Regions from separate parts of the Homo sapiens genome. Here regions 1, 3, 4, 5 and 6 are each linked to region 2. Evidence: promoter capture Hi-C in 16 types of primary human blood cells and fetal thymus (Javierre and others, 2016). All regions are on one chromosome and are shown on one strand. The core of a region is centred on a gene start or on the middle of the fragment in contact, and the rest is flanking DNA. Distances in the headings are between cores, read along the strand shown. Region 1 holds the start of SLC35E2B (solute carrier family 35 member E2B). Region 2 holds the start of AURKAIP1 (aurora kinase A interacting protein 1). Region 3 holds the start of PERM1 (PPARGC1 and ESRR induced regulator, muscle 1). Region 4 has its middle 4.3 kb from the start of HES4. Region 5 overlaps LOC100288175 (a long non-coding RNA gene). Region 6 overlaps CDK11A (cyclin dependent kinase 11A).

The links. Contacts are between HindIII fragments. The CHiCAGO score rates a contact against its expected background, and 5 or more counts as called.
Region 1: a contact is called between a fragment that was not itself captured here and the fragment with the promoter of AURKAIP1 in region 2, in 1 of 17 cell types (fetal thymus). The highest score is 7.0, in fetal thymus.
Region 3: a contact is called between the fragment with the promoter of PERM1 here and the fragment with the promoter of AURKAIP1 in region 2, in 3 of 17 cell types (activated CD4 T cells, total B cells and naive CD4 T cells). The highest score is 11.2, in activated CD4 T cells.
Region 4: a fragment that was not itself captured here is called in contact with the fragment with the promoter of AURKAIP1 in region 2 in 1 of 17 cell types (total B cells); the score reaches 5.1 in total B cells.
Region 5: a fragment that was not itself captured here is called in contact with the fragment with the promoter of AURKAIP1 in region 2 in 1 of 17 cell types (total CD4 T cells); the score reaches 5.6 in total CD4 T cells.
Region 6: a contact is called between a fragment that was not itself captured here and the fragment with the promoter of AURKAIP1 in region 2, in 2 of 17 cell types (total B cells and naive CD8 T cells). The highest score is 8.0, in total B cells.

What each region holds. Positions count from the first base shown.
Region 1 is chr1:1,691,383-1,694,082 of GRCh38, reverse strand. It overlaps SLC35E2B (solute carrier family 35 member E2B), which reads left to right and starts at 1,288. Exons shown (of 10, transcript NM_001290264.2): 1 at 1,288-1,634; 2 at 2,690-2,700. RefSeq lists silencers at 815-894, 1,465-1,624 and an enhancer at 1,459-1,753. The HindIII fragment of the contact is 3,344 bases long and covers 1-2,700 here.
Region 2 is chr1:1,373,801-1,376,500 of GRCh38, reverse strand. It overlaps AURKAIP1 (aurora kinase A interacting protein 1), which reads left to right and starts at 1,294. Exons shown (of 4, transcript NM_017900.3): 1 at 1,294-1,347; 2 at 1,711-1,796; 3 at 2,056-2,501; 4 at 2,599-2,700. The coding sequence starts at 1,745. The coding sequence ends at 2,700. RefSeq lists silencers at 1,304-1,483, 1,504-1,553 and an enhancer at 603-1,508. The HindIII fragment of the contact is 3,347 bases long and covers 1-1,912 here.
Region 3 is chr1:980,843-983,342 of GRCh38, reverse strand. It overlaps PERM1 (PPARGC1 and ESRR induced regulator, muscle 1), which reads left to right and starts at 1,250. Exons shown (of 4, transcript NM_001394713.1): 1 at 1,250-1,278; 2 at 2,170-2,500. The coding sequence starts at 2,314. The HindIII fragment of the contact is 23,754 bases long and covers 1-2,500 here.
Region 4 is chr1:1,003,054-1,005,753 of GRCh38, reverse strand. No RefSeq gene overlaps it. Among named protein-coding and RNA genes, the nearest start is that of HES4, 4.3 kb to the right of the region's middle. The HindIII fragment of the contact is 5,463 bases long and covers 1-2,700 here.
Region 5 is chr1:1,066,118-1,068,817 of GRCh38, reverse strand. LOC100288175 (a long non-coding RNA gene) reads right to left here. Exons shown (of 4, transcript NR_148960.1): 4 at 2,365-2,700. LOC105378948 (a long non-coding RNA gene) reads left to right here. Exons shown (of 5, transcript NR_168433.1): 1 at 1-257; 2 at 778-1,020; 3 at 2,020-2,072; 4 at 2,220-2,352. Among named protein-coding and RNA genes, the nearest start is that of RNF223, 6.8 kb to the left of the region's middle. RefSeq lists a silencer at 1-104. The HindIII fragment of the contact is 4,423 bases long and covers 1-2,700 here.
Region 6 is chr1:1,715,088-1,717,787 of GRCh38, reverse strand. CDK11A (cyclin dependent kinase 11A) reads left to right here. Exons shown (of 20, transcript NM_024011.4): 5 at 1,310-1,442. Among named protein-coding and RNA genes, the nearest start is that of CDK11A, 7.9 kb to the left of the region's middle. The HindIII fragment of the contact is 1,554 bases long and covers 517-2,070 here.

The DNA.
Region 1 (2,700 bases), core at 128-2,627, 320 kb before region 2:
AACTCCTGACCTCAGGCGATCCGCCCGCCTCAGCCTCTCAAAATGCTGGGATTACAGACGTGAGCCACCTCGCCCGGCCAAAAGTAATCTTTTCTTTTTTCTTTTGACAGGGAGTCTCGCTCTGTCGCCAGGCTGGAGTGCAGTGGCGCCATCTCGGCTCACTGCAACCTCCGCCTCCCGGGTTCAGGTGATCCTCCTTCCTCAGCCTCCGGAGTAGCTGGGATTACAGGCGCCCGCCACCACGCCCGGCCAATTTTTGTATTTTTAGTAGAGACGACGTTTTACCACGTTGGCCATACCAGGCTGGTCTCAAGCTCCTGACCTCGTGATGCGCCGGCCTCGGCCTCCCAAAGTGTTGAGATTACAGGCGTGAGCCACCGGGCCCGGCCCAAAAGTAATCTCTAAAGAGCCCTTTAGCCGTAACTTCATTCCTGAAAATTATTTGGGAAAGTAACGCTAGGAAAACGCTCGACGAAGCTCCGGAGCCGGGGGTCCTCGGGGCCGCAGGCGCGCCCGCGGGTGTCTGCTCCGGATGTCCCGCGGCAGCCCCGACGCCAGCCTGGATACGAAGGCCCCGCCCCGGAGCGCGCCACCAGCCAATCAGCGCCCTGAGGCGAGTCCTCACCCCGCGCGGCGGCCCCGCCCCCCGCAGCTCCGGGCCCAGCTGTCAGAGCAGCTTTCCCTCAGGCTGGGCGGAGCGTGGCCACTTCCGCCAGGAGGCGCCTTTGTGTCTTCTAAGTTAAGCCTATTCAGTGGATTTCTTATTCCTGGAACCCAAACCTGGGCAGTAAACCCTCCGGGGCTTAGAGGCCGCTGCCTCCACAGACTGGCCGATCCCGCCCTGAAGTGCCGCTGGTGGAACAGCCCGGGCGGAACCGCCCGGGCGGAACCAACGGGCTGCCGCGGGGGGTGGGGCCACGGTCCCCCCCCTTCTGCCTTCAGTGGAACGGCCCCGGCGGAACCAACGGGCCACGGGGATGCACTACGCGCACCGTCGTCCTCTCCCTCTGCCTGCAGTGGAACGGCCCGGGCGGAACCAACGTGCGGCCGCCCGGAGCACTCGGCGCGCCGTGTCCCTCCCCGTGTGGCTGCACTGCAACGGCCCGGGCTGGACCACCAGGCGGCAGCGGAGAGGCACTTAAAAGCCCCGTGTTACCCTAGACCTTAAAAAAAAAAAAAAAACTGCGTGTTTCCACCCCCGTCGGCCTGCAGTGGAAGGGCCCGAGCAGAACCAACGGGGGAGGGGACGCTGAGCGCGCCGTGTTTCTCCTCCCGTCTGCCTGGAGTAGAACGGCCCGGGCGGAACCAACGGGCAGCCGCGGGGGCGTTGTGGGCCGCGGCGCGTTTCCCCGGCTCCGTGGCTCTGGGGCACTGAGGAGCGGCGCCCGCGGGGCAGCGAGGAGCCCGATGCAGGGTTCTGCGCGTCATTTCCGGTCCCGCGGGCGCCCCGTGAAGCCCACCTGGATCCGCCAGCGCTGTGCCACTCCCCAGTGCCGAGCTCCGAGCTGTCTCCGCGGCCTCGCGCCCGGCCCCTCCACCGCGCGCCTCTCAGGCCCCGCCCGCCAGCGTCCCTTTGTTGTGAAGGCGCCGGGGCCTAGCGCTATGCCTGCGGCGGAGACTGCATCAGGCTCTCGGTGGGTTCTGCGTGCGGGGTGCTCTGCTCGGTGATCGGTGCTGGGTGCTGCGTGCTCGGTGCTCGGTGCTGGGTGCTGGGTGCCGGTACTGATGCTGAGTGTGCGGGCGTCCGGGGTTTCCCTGCCCGGATTCGCTCCTGGGGGTCCTTTCCTATGGCTGGCGCTGTGCGCGGAAAACGCTGGTGGGGTTTTCCCAGCTGGCTTTAAGCGTTTTCACGTCCGGGAGTCCACGGCGACCCCCACGCCCTGAAGCCTGGGAACGCGGTGTGCGTGGCCGCAAAAAGAACAACAACAACAAAAAAACACAAAACAAAACACGCAAAAAACTAAAGCAAAACTCCCGACAGCCGAGCCCCGTTCGGTGCCTTTTCTTTTTTTTTTTCTTTAATGGAGTGAAATCTACTTTGCTCAGGAAGCCTGCAAATCACATTTTCAGGCCAAACGAGGCAGTATTTTAGAAGGGGTCGCTGAGGCAGGAGTAGGAAGGCTTTCCACTCCACTCACGCATTTTCAGTGTAGGCGAATCGTAAAACGGAGGGCAGAACGAAAATGAGCGGATCTGGGAGTGCAGGCTGCGCTTCGTCCACATCGATAACAGATGTTTCCTGGTGAAGATGTGTAGGGCGCAGCGGGTCACCTGGTCGGGGGAGGGCACAGGGCGTCCCTCCACGGGGTGCCTTTGGCGTTGGGCACTTGTGTGGTCTCCAGCTTCCGGGTTTTGGAAGCGGAGTGTCCCCTGCAGCCTGAGCCTCTTGCAGGTGGTTTCCTTGGGACGAACTCCCAGGGGGAGGTCTGAGTTCTGGGGCATGGTTTGAAGATTTGGGACACATTTTGCCTGAAATTCCCTGCTGGCCGTTTGAACCCACCTGGACTTCCTGACCAGGGGCACGGATTCTTAACCTCTGGTGCAGGGGCCTGGCTAGGAGAGGTCTGCACAGTTGGACGAGGTGCAAAGTGACGCTTTGTCAGTAACCCGGCGTTGAGATTCCTGTGGTGGGACGAGCAGCTCCTATGGCTTTATCCCATTTTAAATCCAAGTTTTCTTTTCCTTCTAGTCCTCGGGCTC
Region 2 (2,700 bases), core at 45-2,544:
CAGGGGTGAAGGGCGGGCCCGCAAATAACGTTCGTAAACCTTCCTGCTTGGAGTCCCAAGTAGCCCCTCTGAGGGGTAACGTAGAGTCATCTGGGGACCTCAGTTGTAGAGGTGGGCCTGGAGCCTGAACTTTATGTCCTCACACTGGCCTATCCTACCTGTCACTCACTGCTTAGCCAGGCTGGGCCCGGCAGATGACCTGGCCTTTCCACTTCCTGCTAAGCGTCCCTGGAAGACCCTCCTGCAAGGCAAGTCTCCGAGCAGGCCCAGCAGGCTCTGCTCCACACCCCTCTCCCACCAGGCGCCCCTGCAAGTCCATGCTGGGGTCTCTATATTAGCCAACCTCACGGAGGTCAAAGGGGCCTGTCTGGAGTAGAAAGGTGAAGCTACACGTTGGCAGCGCCTACTCTGGGGAGCATCATTAGGGGCTCAGCCAAACCCAATCCACCAGAGAGGCTGCTTTTAGTTCTCAGACAAAAAGTGTGAGTCTGATTTTTATTTTATTTATTTATTTATTTTTTTGAGACAGGATCTATGTCACCCAGACTGGAGTGCAGTGGTGCGATCTCGGCTCACCGCAACCTCTGCCTCCTGGGCGCAAGCGATTCTCTTGCCTCAGCCTCCCGAGTAGCTGGGATTACAGGCGCCTGCCACCACGCTAGGCTAATTTTTGTAGTTTTAGTAGAGACGGGGTTTCACCATGTTGGCCATGCTGGTCTCGAACTCCTGACCTCAGGTGATCCACCAGCCTCGGCCTCCCAAAGTGCTGGGATTACAGGCCTGAGCCACCGCGCCCAGCCTGCGTCTTATTTTTTTTTTTTTAACCCCAGGAATGAGGAGTCGGGGAGGCCCGGTACCGCAGGCTCAGTGCTTATTCCGGGTCCTTGGTCTCTAGCAAAAACGGGGGAAATAGCTCTAGACGCTTCCGCCTTCCACGTAACTCCACTTCCGTTGCCAGATACGTCACTTCCGTAGTCTTGAGCCCGCACTTCCGTCGGCCCGTTGGGAATCCGGCCCCTGGGTGGTCCGGAAACGATTCTGGACCTGCGGGTATATCCAGGGCCCGCACCCCCTGGGATTGTGGGAAATGTAGTTTTTTGCCTCCGTAAGGGACCAGGCGGAGCTGAGGAACCGCGCGAGGACTGGGACCGTGATTCCACTAACCGGAAACCGTCGCCTTTCGGGCCCGGCGGGGCCTGAGCCAATGCAGAATCGGGGGCCGCGAGGACGCCAGCGGGCGCTGTGCGTAGGAACCGCCGGGTGGCCGCTGCCGATCGGGGCCGACTTGGGGACGGACCGGAAGTGCCCGAGGGCGGCCGCAGAACGGTCAATTTGAGCCGCGTCGAGGTCGGGCTTGGGAAGGGTCAGCGGGAGGCCTGAGGGCGCCGGGCGCTGCGGCAGGCGGGCCCGGGGTCCAGCCGAGAGGGTCCGGGCGCCAGGCAACGCGATTCGCGCGGGGGTGAACCCGGGGAGGGGGCCGGCCTCCCCGTTCTGGGACCTTTCGGTGCGTCCGAGCGCGACACCGCCCGCGTCGGGGGCTTGGGAGCCTCGGGGCGCGAGCTGTGTTGGAAGCAAAGTCCTCCTTGTGGGTTGGGGTGGCGGAGGGAGAAGGGAAGCGAGGGTCGCGGCGGGACCAGACGCCCCAGTCCCGGCCCGCCCGCGACTACTGAAGGCGCTGCCGCCTGACCTGAACGGGCACTTGTGTTCCAGCTCCCCTGGGACCTGTGGCCGCCGCCCACAGACCATGCTCCTGGGGCGCCTGACTTCCCAGCTGTTGAGGGCCGTTCCTTGGGCAGGTAGGAAGCCGCGCGGGGGCGGATGGGAGGATGCACACCTGGTTAGGAGTGCGGGTCTCAGCAGCTCCGCTGGGGCAGGGCCGGTGGCCACACACACACTCTTTCCCCTCTAAGCTTCCGATGCTCACAGAGGGAACCTCAGGGGTTCAGGCCAGGAATGAGGTGCGGGGGATCCTCGCTGGGACGAACCTGCTGCTCCTCAACCCGACGGGCCTGTGTGGTCTCGCGAGCGGTGACCGTGGCGTCTGGTTTTCTGCAGGCGGCCGCCCGCCTTGGCCCGTCTCTGGAGTGCTGGGCAGCCGGGTCTGCGGGCCCCTTTACAGCACATCGCCGGCCGGCCCAGGTAGGGCGGCCTCTCTCCCTCGCAAGGGGGCCCAGCTGGAGCTGGAGGAGATGCTGGTCCCCAGGAAGATGTCCGTCAGCCCCCTGGAGAGCTGGCTCACGGCCCGCTGCTTCCTGCCCAGACTGGATACCGGGACCGCAGGGACTGTGGCTCCACCGCAATCCTACCAGTGTCCGCCCAGCCAGATAGGGGAAGGGGCCGAGCAGGGGGATGAAGGCGTCGCGGATGCGCCTCAAATTCAGTGCAAAAACGTGCTGAAGATCCGCCGGCGGAAGATGAACCACCACAAGTACCGGAAGCTGGTGAAGAAGACGCGGTTCCTGCGGAGGAAGGTCCAGGAGGGACGCCTGAGACGCAAGCAGGTGAGTGGCCCCCTGCTTGGCCCTGGGAGGGCAAAGTGCTGAGAACACGTTTCTTTGCCACGAATTACTTGGCGGTCCCTCTCTCTGCGTCTTGCAGATCAAGTTCGAGAAAGACCTGAGGCGCATCTGGCTGAAGGCGGGGCTAAAGGAAGCCCCCGAAGGCTGGCAGACCCCCAAGATCTACCTGCGGGGCAAATGA
Region 3 (2,500 bases), core at 1-2,500, 390 kb after region 2:
GGAGGCACAGGGAGGCGGCCGCAGCCGAGAGACGCCACACAGAAGCAGATGCGCAGCTCCTGGGAAACTCCAGCCTGGAGCACGGCCACGCAGCCACCTGGGGAACGGGGCGGCACCTTCTGACGCTGACCCCAAGCGTCCTGGAAATGTGAGAGGTTCGCCGAAAGGAATGTTCCCAGATATTCACAGCCGCACCGTGTGTGGTAGCTGCAAACTGGAAACGACCCACATCGCCACCCACGGGAAACGGCACAGCCGCGTGGCACGTTCACACAGGACAGCCTCACCCGCCCGGGCAGTCGCCCGCGGCCCTCATGGCAGCTGTCTCCAGAGCACGGCGTGGGCCCGAGGACACAGATGCAGAAAGGGATGCAGGGTGCGATTCCACTTGTGAAAGCTCAAGTCAGGCCGGCCCTGCGTGGCGGGACGCCTTGTCCTGTGGTCTCGTGGCAGCTACTTTCTGGAAAAGCATCGTATGGCACCAGGCATGCACTTTCTGCACGCCCAGCTCTCACTGCCACCCCTCACGGCGCACACCCCAGTCTCCTAGTATCGTGCCCTGAACTCTCAGGAGCTTCTCGGTCCAAGCCTCCTCCTTAGAGAGGTCTCCGGCCCCTCCAGCCACGCCTCTCCCTACTTCTTTCTCAGGACGTGCTGCCATCGGAGCTGAGCTCACCTGCCTGTTTGATCGGATGTTTATTGTTGGATCCCTCGCCCTGTCCTCTTGTCCCCTCTGGCTCGGAACCTGCCTGGGAATGGGCACCGTGAACCCCAAGGTCAGGACGGCCTGGAGGGTGCAGCTGAGCGGAGCCAGGCGTGGGGGCTCTGACGCTGACGCTCCCTGGCGTCACTCACCCTCACATGAGCCCCAGAGGTCAGGACCGGGAGGCACAAGCCCTGGCCGGGACACAGAGGCCATCTCAGAAGCAGGCCAGGAACATTCCAGGGGCGGCAGGGAGGGCAGGTCTGAGGTTTCACCGCGGGTGGCGGAGGCACGGGAACTGAGCGGTGCTGCCTGCTGGTCAGCGTCCTCCGGCCCGTGTCTGACCCCACCTCAGCCCGGCCCCGTGCCAGGAAGTCGTCCTCATGTACTGTAGCTGGAGGGCCCTCAAATGCCATCTATTTGTGGCCTGGACCCTGATGGCTGGCACGAGTCTCATGTGGCCACAGGGACGTGGTATTTTTGGCACAGGGGGAGGAGCCTGTGCAGCCACAGCCTAGCACCATGCCGACCCAGGACGGGCAGCTCAGACGCCCAGCTCGGCCGCCGGGACCCAGGTAGGACATGGTCAGCTGCTGGCTCCTGACCCAAGGGGCCCCAATGGTAACAACCCCCACAGAGGCTTCTCAAGAGACCAGAGAGGAGGGCGAAGGTCAGTGGGTGGGAAGCCACCATGCCCTGGCCTCCGTCTCAGGACCGTCCCCACCAAAGTGACTTCCCACCCCTGGGTCCAGAGGGGCTGACCTGAGGCCGAGGGCGGCCCCCTCTAGGGGTAGACCCGACAGCTGGCTAGGGTCTCCTTGCTTCTCTGAGACGGGGCAAAGGAAGGCACCCCGGGCAGCCGGGCAGGCCTGGATCGTGGTGCAGACCTCGAGGACGGCCCGAGGTGGCTGCTGGGTCAAGAGACCCACCGCAGCCTGCACCTCCTGCCCAGGCTCTCCGTGCTGACTTGGGCCAGCTCTGGCCAGCACCACCTGGTGAGCTCAGAGAATAGCCTGGCCCAGCCAAGGCGATCGGAAGGTCATCGCCGAGGGCTGGGCACCTGCTGGGCCCTGTAAACCTTTCCTGTGGCCGGCTGCCAGCTGGGGCGCACTGGGATGGACCAGGGCTGCCCACCCCCGAGGGCACTGGTCCCATCGGGTGGACCCTGAAAGGTGCTTTGCCGTGCAAAGACAGCTCTGGCAGAAGGTGGAGGAGGTGAGGCTGCCCCAGCTGAGGTGTGATGGGAAAGAGCATTCAAACCTGAGGACGGCTGGTTTTATAGCTTCACTGGTAGAAAATCATCCTTGATTCTAGGAATGTAACACCGCATCATCACACAGCTATCATTTGGGGTGCGTTGGGAACTAGGGTCATGGGAGCTGGGGATCTTCTAACTTGGAAATCGTCACCACTAGGTTTGAAGGAAGCGCGGCCCTCCCCTCGAGATGCTGTTCTCTTCCTTTCAGGGCATGGATGGAGCCCCGAGGCGGTGGGAGCTCCCAGGTCTCGTGGGGCAGGGGCGGCATGTGCAGGGTGGTGCCCGGGGCCTGAACCCATGAAGACCCCACCGGACCCATTCTGCTACCCTCCAGTGCCTCTGCTGACTCCACATGGAAAATTTCCAGTACAGCGTCCAGCTGAGTGACCAGGACTGGGCCGAGTTCTCAGCCACCGCCGATGAGTGTGGCCTCCTGCAGGCCGGCCTGGCCTCTGGGGACGAGCTCTTGTCCAGTGACATTGACCAAGGGGACAGCAGTGGCAGCAGTCCCCCCAGGGCCCCACCTCTCCCAACTGGGC
Region 4 (2,700 bases), core at 199-2,698, 370 kb after region 2:
GCTTGACCATACCAGGCTCCCTAAAGTCCCTGCCACTAAATGACACTTTCATCCCAGCCTTCCCAGGGCCAGCAGGGCAGATAAACCCAGGGGGCTCATCAGGCAGCCCTGCCCCTGCGAGGGGAGGGCAGAGGCAGGCGGTGGAGGGGAGGAGGGGTCAGTGTGTGCTTCGACTCCTCTGGAATCTGGCTGCTGTGACTTGCTTTGGCCGATGGAGTGTGGTGGAGATTTTACTATGTGCGTTCTGGATCCTGGCCTCAAGAGTCCCTAGGCTTCCACTTCGCCCTCCTGGAACGCTGGCCATGTGTTAGGAGGAAGCTGACTGAGAGTGGGTAGGACTCCAGGCTGCACGGCTCTGGCAGAGAGCCCGGCAGCTGAGGGACAGCAGCCCCAGGTGTCCAGCATGGCTACCCTTGGGCCCTTCCCACCCAGCTGACCTTGGCCCAGGGCCGCAGGCTGTGAGAGGCCCCAGGAAGCCACTGGCACTGCCCTGATCCCCACTACGGAAAGAATAGGCAGGTGGTGCTTAAGCCACCAAGAAGGTAGGGATTCCACACGGGCTGTGGTCTGCCCACATGAACAGGAAGGAGGGAGGGTGAGGGGCAGACACAATGGCCGGCCAGATAGGCTTCTCTTGATAAGGAGAGAACAGACAGGGGAGGAGGAAGCCGCAGATGCAGGCTGTGCATCTGCCCGAGATCTCAGGGCTGGCGGACAGCAGAGGCGGGAGCTGGGAGGGGGGCAGAGAGAGTGGAGAGGCTGGACCGTGGAGGGGTGCAGTTGGGAGAAAGGACCCAGTGGGGTAAGTGGGGAGGGGACAGGACCCCTGAAAGAGAGGAAGTCAAAGTTGGAGAATTGCTGGTGTGGATTTTGAAGGCATGGCCGGGAGAGTGACAGGGAGCAGGTGTCCCCTCCTGCAGGAAAGGGGTGCCGATGACTTCAACACAGTGAGGTCTGGTCACAAAGCGGGGGTGGTTTTGGTGGAAAAGGAAAGCAGTCTGGGAGTGCCAGTGAGGAGGGACAAGGGCACCCACCTCGTCCTGGTACAGCAGAGAGAAAAGCAGCGCCTGCCGGGAGCAGGAACAGGCTGGGAGGGCATCCCAGACAGGCAGGGTGGGGAGACTCCAGTACCATCCTGCTTGGAGACACAGCTCCCACCGCTGCTGAGAAGGCATGCAGGTGGGGTGGCAGTGGCACCAGCCTGGTGCTGCTGCTTCTGCCTGAGTCCTGGTCTCTCTCTGGCAGCCTGGATTCCTGCAGCCCTGGCCTTCTGTCACTACAATCCCAGCAAACACCCAGGAACAGCTCTGCGCCCACCTCGGCTCTCCGGGAGAGAAACCCACCCCCACCCCAGCCTTGGTTCCTCGGTGGCTTTGGCCCCAGCTGCCTGAGTGCACAGCCCGCTGCCCTGGGCAGGAGTTGGGGACCATGCTGAGGACCACCTGCAGGGGGTGGCTACAGGTCTCTGATGTCAGGAGTCAGTGTGTGAGGGGGGTGTTGAGGGCCGTGGCGAGATGGCAGCCGCCACCTCTGGGTCAGAGGTTGGGAGGGGAGGTCACAGCCAGCACCTCACAGGCCTTTTGGGGACACTGGCTGTGGTCATGGAGTGCGGCCACAGTGGCCCAATGTGAGGAGACCCCCCAACAAGGCTGAGGCCCCCCCAGGTCCAGCCTAGAAGACACCCCGGTTTTCCCCACAGTCTCCCCACTGGCGTGTGAATGTCCTCATCAGTCACCCCCCTTAGCTAACAGGGGGCTGTGCAGATGCCCCGGGGCCACCCGCCATTTGGAGCTTGACCCACTCAGGGCCAGGAGGTCGGCTGGATTTCAGTGGCTCCCAAGAAGCACCCGTTAGATGGGGGGGAGGGGTGGGGAAGTCGCTGAGCCTCTGCCTCTGTGGAAGAGAGGAAGGGATCAGCGAGGAGGGAGCAGGGGTGAGGAGGGAAGGGTCACTCTCCCTGGGTCAGGGCCCCAGCCCACCTCCACTATTCCAGTCTTGAGTGCCGCACCACAAACCACCCCAAAACAGCACGCTCAGCAACCACCCTACTGTGTGCGGGCAGCCTTGGAACGGGGCGCGCTGGGACCTGCGCCGGAAGCTGCTCAGGAGTCTGGAATCCAATGCTGATTCCTCCACGGGGCCTCTCCTTGAGGCCAGGGCGTGCTCCCTCCCAGCACGGCAGCTGGGTTCCAAGAGCGACTGTCCCAGGACAGCGAGGTACGCATGGCGTCTTCCAAGTCAGCCTCAGAAGTCATGTCCTGCCAAACACCCCATTCTTCCCAGCTGAGACTGTCACAGAGTCTCATGTAGAAGGCATTTCAAGATATGGGGATGGGAGATACTATCACGGCCGTCTCTGAAAAACGCAACCTGCCCCCAACCCAGGTGTCGGCACCATCCTGGGCTGCAGCCCAGGATCCACCCCCACACTCAGAGCAAGGGAACCCCAAGGCCCTCAGGAACCCTGAGGCCCCTACCACAAATCGAGGCCAGATTCGAGAGGCAGGGAGGGGACCATCAGAGGCCAAGGGCACAGACCCAGAGAGACAGACACACAGATGGGAGCTGTCCTGTGGCAAAGAAGGTGGGAGGAACACAGTCCCCGGAGATCCTGGAGTGGGCTCCCTGGCAGGGGGCAGGGAGCAGGGGGGTCTCTTCCTCTCCAGAAGAGCAGAGGCAAGTGCTGGTGGCCCCTCCTGC
Region 5 (2,700 bases), core at 34-2,533, 310 kb after region 2:
CGCCGCACCTGCACCTGCACAGCCCGCGTGGCCCCGCCCCGCCGCACCTGCATCTGCACAGCCCGCGTGGGCCCGCCCCGCCGCAGCTGAAGTGCACCACCATGGGCCCGGCCCGCGGCTTGCTGCTCTGGGCCCGGTTCACCTCGTCCCGGAAGCCGAGGACGCCGGCGGGATCGGCCCGGACGCCGTAGTCCGGCCAGCCGAAGTACTGGAAGTGCTGCACCGTACGCTGTGGCTCCTCCTGAGCGGGGCAAGCGGTGAGTGTGACCCCAGGGTGGGAGGAGGAGGCTGAGGCACAGCTGGGTTTCCGGGAGTGCCCAAGCGGAGGGGCTGCGGGAGCCAAGGCGAGCAGGAGGAGGAGGAAGGAAATGGGGAGGGGGCGCCGAGATGGCCCCAGGTGGCTCAGGTGCCTGGGGAAGGGAAGAGGGAGCTGGGGGCGGGCGAAGCAGGCTGTGAGGACAGTTATTTTATAAGGAAAAACCAAATGTGAGGGGTCCATGGGGTCCTGGAGGACCCCCCCACACACACTGGGCGGGGGCTGGAGGGAACACGAGGTAATCTGCCCGGAGCAGAAATGGGCGTCTCTGGTATACAACGGAGACCAAAGCTGCAGTTGGAGAGGTGTGTGGGAGGAGCGGCCGCCAGCCCAGGGCTGAGAATGTGGCCACGTCAGTGACCCCTGTCCAGGCTTGGAATGCACCTCCTGGGTTGAGGGGTGTGGAAGCCCCCAAAGGCAGTGGGGTTGGATGCAGGCAGGTGTGGGGTCTCCCAGTGCAGGCCGACAGCAGGCACGCTCCACAGCCGCCAGGCTCACCTGGCCCGGCCGCCACACCTGCAGCTCCCGCACGCAGTAGCCCTGGGCCTGGCCCTTGCCGAGGACGCGCATGTGCACACGGCCGAACTCTTGGCTGCCGGGCAGCTCTGGCCAGTCCCGGAAACACTTGTTCCGAGGGGAGCGCTTTGCATCAGCCTTGCTGGCAGCACCTCGGCACCCCGCCCCTGCGACCTGCAGAGACGCAGGTGTGTACGTGCAGCCACGGGGCTCTGTGGGAGCCTCCCCACTCCCACGGCGTCCCACAGCCTCCTTGGCCTGGTCGGGAAGGGCCTTGGGCAGCCGAAGATGCACGGGGTGGGATGGGCACTGGGAGCACTGGCACCGCACCCCTACCCGGCCCCGCTCCATCTCCCTGGTGGTCATGACGATGACACGCGTGTTCTCCTGGTGCACCGTGGCCCAGAAAGCAGCCACCGTGGCCTGCAGACAGGCCTGCAGACAGCCCTGCAGGCGATGTACACCCTGCGCCCGCGAGGCCCTGCCCCGCGGGGAGGAGCCACAGCGTACGGTGCAGCACTTCCAGTACTTCGGCTGGCCGGACTACGGCGTCCGGACCGATCCCGCCGGCGTCCTCGGCTTCCGGGACGAGGTGAACCGGGCCCAGAGCCGCGAGCCGCGAGCCGCGGGCCGGGCCCATGGTGGTGCACTTCAGCTGCGGCGGGGCGGGCCCACGCGGGCTGTGCAGGTGCAGGTGCGGCGGGGCAGGGCCACAAGGGATGTCCACCCTGCCCCTGCCATGGCCCGGCTCCTCCTCAGGGTCAGTCTGAAAGGGAATGAGGCCAACTGCTGCTGTTAACAGAGGACAAACAAGTCCATGCAAATGCTATGCAAATGATATGCAAACGACACACAAATATTATGCAAAGAGCCCTGGTGGCTTAAACACACTCCTCACTCCAGGCCAGCAAGGGGCTGAGGACCAATGCCCGTCCAGCCTCTCTGAGGACCCCTTGGAGACTGCCGCCCACCCCTCCCTTGGGGACCCTGGTTCTTCCTGAGCCCCCCAGGAGCAATGGGCCCAGGCCCCGCCTCCCGCACACACCCACCCTGATGTAGTCGGCTCCGGGCCCGCTGTCATCCTCGTTGAGCAGGATGACTCAAGGGTAGCATCAACTGGGAAGGGAGGTGCCGCTCAGTTCTCCAGGGCACAGCTCGTGGGCCTCACCCTGCCTCTTTGCCCGCAGACCCTGTGGTGAGCAGAGATGGAGGGTCCAGGGTATGCAAGGGGGAGCCTCAGGTCAGCGGTGGCAGATGCTCGGCCTGCCCCCCACCTCCCCCAGGCCCGACGGGTGACGCCCTGGCCTCCGCCCTCACAGGGAAGGATGTTCTTGTAGTGATTCTTGGGCTTGTTCTCCACACTCTGCCCCTCCTTCCGAGGGTACAGGAACCGGCATTCCTGCTGCTGCAGCATCTGGAGGTGATGGAGCCTTCAGCTCACAGCCCCGGCCCCTTCCCAGAGCCCGAGATGGCCACCCCCAGCCCGTCCCGTGTGGGCGGAAGAGTACCTAGGTGCCGAGGCAAGAGACTGAAGGCACAAACTGTTTCAGTATAATAAAGAAAATAGAATAAGAATAGTCATAATACAAATTAGATACAGCGATGATCATGAACAATTATCCATCATTATTATAAACATTATTAATCATTAGCTTTTAATATTACTCTGTTGCATTAATAATATAACCTAGGAATAACCGGCAGGTATAGGGTCAGGTGCTGAAGGGACATTGTGAGAAGTGAATAGAAGGCAAGAGGGGAGCCTTCTGTCATGCCCGCATAAGGGCCGCTTGAGGGCCCCTTGGTCAAGCGGTAACGCCAGTGTCTGGGAAGGCACCCGTTACTGAGCAGACCGGGAAAGGGAGTCT
Region 6 (2,700 bases), core at 44-2,543, 340 kb before region 2:
AGAGAGCAAACTCTAGCTGAAAGCATGCGTGTGTCACAGACCGTTCAGAGGGGCTATAGAGAGGATACTCCAGCTGAAAGTGTGCGTGTGTCACAGACCGAAAACCAGAGAGAGCAAACTCTAGCTGAAAGCATGCGTGTGTCACAGACCGAAAACCAGAGAGAGCAAACTCTAGCTGAAAGCGTGCGTGTGTCACAGACCATTCAGAATGGCTAGTCCATTTTTCCTCTGGGGTTTTCTCTCCCCCATTATATTGTTTGGGAGCAGTTTGTTTACATTTAAAATGACCTGAATTCAACAAGTATAGGAGAAAAACACACCCCAAAATGGGTATTTGCTCAAGTCCAAAGAATGGGTTAGGCTTGAGCAGTTTGATCTCGTACCAACATCAGGAGATTCTTACGGGTGTTAGGAAAATTGGACCTGGAGCCCGATTGAAATCTCATTATTATAAATACGCTTGATTAATTAATGTGGCTTCATTGCACAGTGGAGAAGCCCACTGATAGCAAAGCTTTGTTCTGTAGTCTTTGTGAAGAGTGGTTTTTGTATTATAAAACTGATAATTATAGTTTATTCAGTATAGAAAATTTTTAAAAGATGAATATTACAATTCTCTTCTGTGATAGCAGAATTGTTTTTCTTTTTTCTTCTTTCTTCATAATTAGACGCTTACTGCAGATAGTTTTCTATTTTCAAAGTTTTTTATTTAACATAAAATCATGATTATTCGACTGGGTGCAGTGGCCCAGGCCTGTAATCCCAGCACTTTGGGAGGACAAGGATGGAGGATCACTTGAGCCCAGGAGTTCAAGACCAGCTTGGCCAATATAGTGAGACCCTGTCTCTTCAAAAAAAAAAAAAAAAAGATTAGGATTACTTAACATCATTATTTAAATATTTAATGTTCTTGATTTAATTTCATTTTCATGTGATTTTTTTTTTTTTTTTTTTTTTTTTTTTTTTTTTTTTTGAGATGGAGTCTCACTTTTTCGCCCAGGCTGGAGTGCAGTGGCACGATCTCGGCTCACCGCAACCTCCACCTCCCAGGTTCAAGTGATTCTACAGCCTCAGCCTCCCTTAGTACCTGGGATTACAGGTGCCTGCCACCACGCCCAGCTAATTTTTGTATTTTTAGTAGAGACGGGGTTTCACCATGTTGGCCAGGCTGGTTTTGAACTCCTGACCTCAGGTGATCCACCCGCCTCGGCCTCCCAAAGTGCTGGGATTACAGGCGTAAGCCACCGTGCCCGGCCTCGTGAAATTTTTGAAGTGAGGTTTCTTTGCATGACACTTTATTTCTCATTAGGGAAGCATGCTAGAGTGAAAGAAAGAGAGCACGAACGTCGGAAACGACATCGAGAAGAACAGGATAAAGCTCGCCGGGAATGGGAAAGACAGAAGAGAAGGGAAATGGCAAGGGAGCATTCCAGGAGAGAAAGGTGAGTGGGCTGGGTCAGTTGAGGACTTTATGAAAGGGCCGTGGTAGTGTGTCCTGTCACAGCAATGAAGAAGAATTTGGCAATAGAAGTCACATTTGTTGCAGAAGTGGTAGACATGGAAACAGCACAGTGAACGCTGGACGAGGCTGACCAAGAGAACTGTCCTGAGGGAGTGAGTTTTCACTGCATCTGGAAGTAAGAACGGGTGTGATTTGATTGAGGGAAGACAATGAAGGGATCAGAAATCTGCACGTCCCGCCGGGCGCAGTGGCTCACGCTAGAATTCCAGCACTTACGAGGCTGAGGTGGTTGGATCCCTTGAGCCTGGGAGGTCAAGGCTGCAGTAAGCTATGACCATGCTACTGCACTCCAGCCTGGTTGACAGAGTGAGACTGTCTCAAAAAAAGGAGAAGGGAGATCCCAAAAACCTTGAAACAGTCTGGAAATCGGGACACTGGACTCCTAGGACTCCTGGCCATTAGTCTGTATATTCGTTCCCCTTTATGAGCCAGATTCCCAAGAAAGAACATCGGTGTAGCCCCAGATCTGTTCTGTGAACCAGGAAAAAGGCTGTAGGCCAGGTGCGAGCAGGCCCATCTCCGCCTTCAGAGTGAGTCCACAGAAAGCTTGCAAGCTGCTCCAGGAAGAGAGGAGTCTGAAGCGGAAGGGCGTGTGCAGCGATGTTTGCCAGCAGCCAGGGCTGGGTACACAGCATGTAAAGATGATGAGAGGGCGCTGGTTCTTGTTGATGCCGAAGGGTGTGGGAGACACTGAGGCCCAGGGGTCAAGGTCCGAGACCGCTGCTGGGTGAGCAAGGTTTCAGTTGGCCTAGTTCCTGTTAGTGTGTGAAACATTCATGTATGCCACGCCCTGTGCCAGACATTGAGTGTGTCTTGTCCCACGAGAGTAGAGCTTGGGATAGAAGTGGAGGTTGGTAGATGAAATTTGGGCTGTCATATTGATTTCCCAGAAGGTAAAGACAGGAGAGTGAATGAACAAAAATTGTTGGGGGCAGACTTCTGGGTAGGGCCGATTCAGATCAGCCAATCCAGAACTGGGTGTGGTAGCATATGCTACGTGGGAGGCTAAGGCCAGAGGACCGCATGACGCCAGCCTGGGCAACGTAGAGAGACCTTGTCTCTGACAAAAAGGAAACTGATAAGGATAATCTGAGAAGCACTGATGCTTGGAAAACTGCTGAGCTGTGGGTAAAAGCAGTAAGAATCTGACCTTCTGGCCTGAGAGCTGCTCCCTTTAC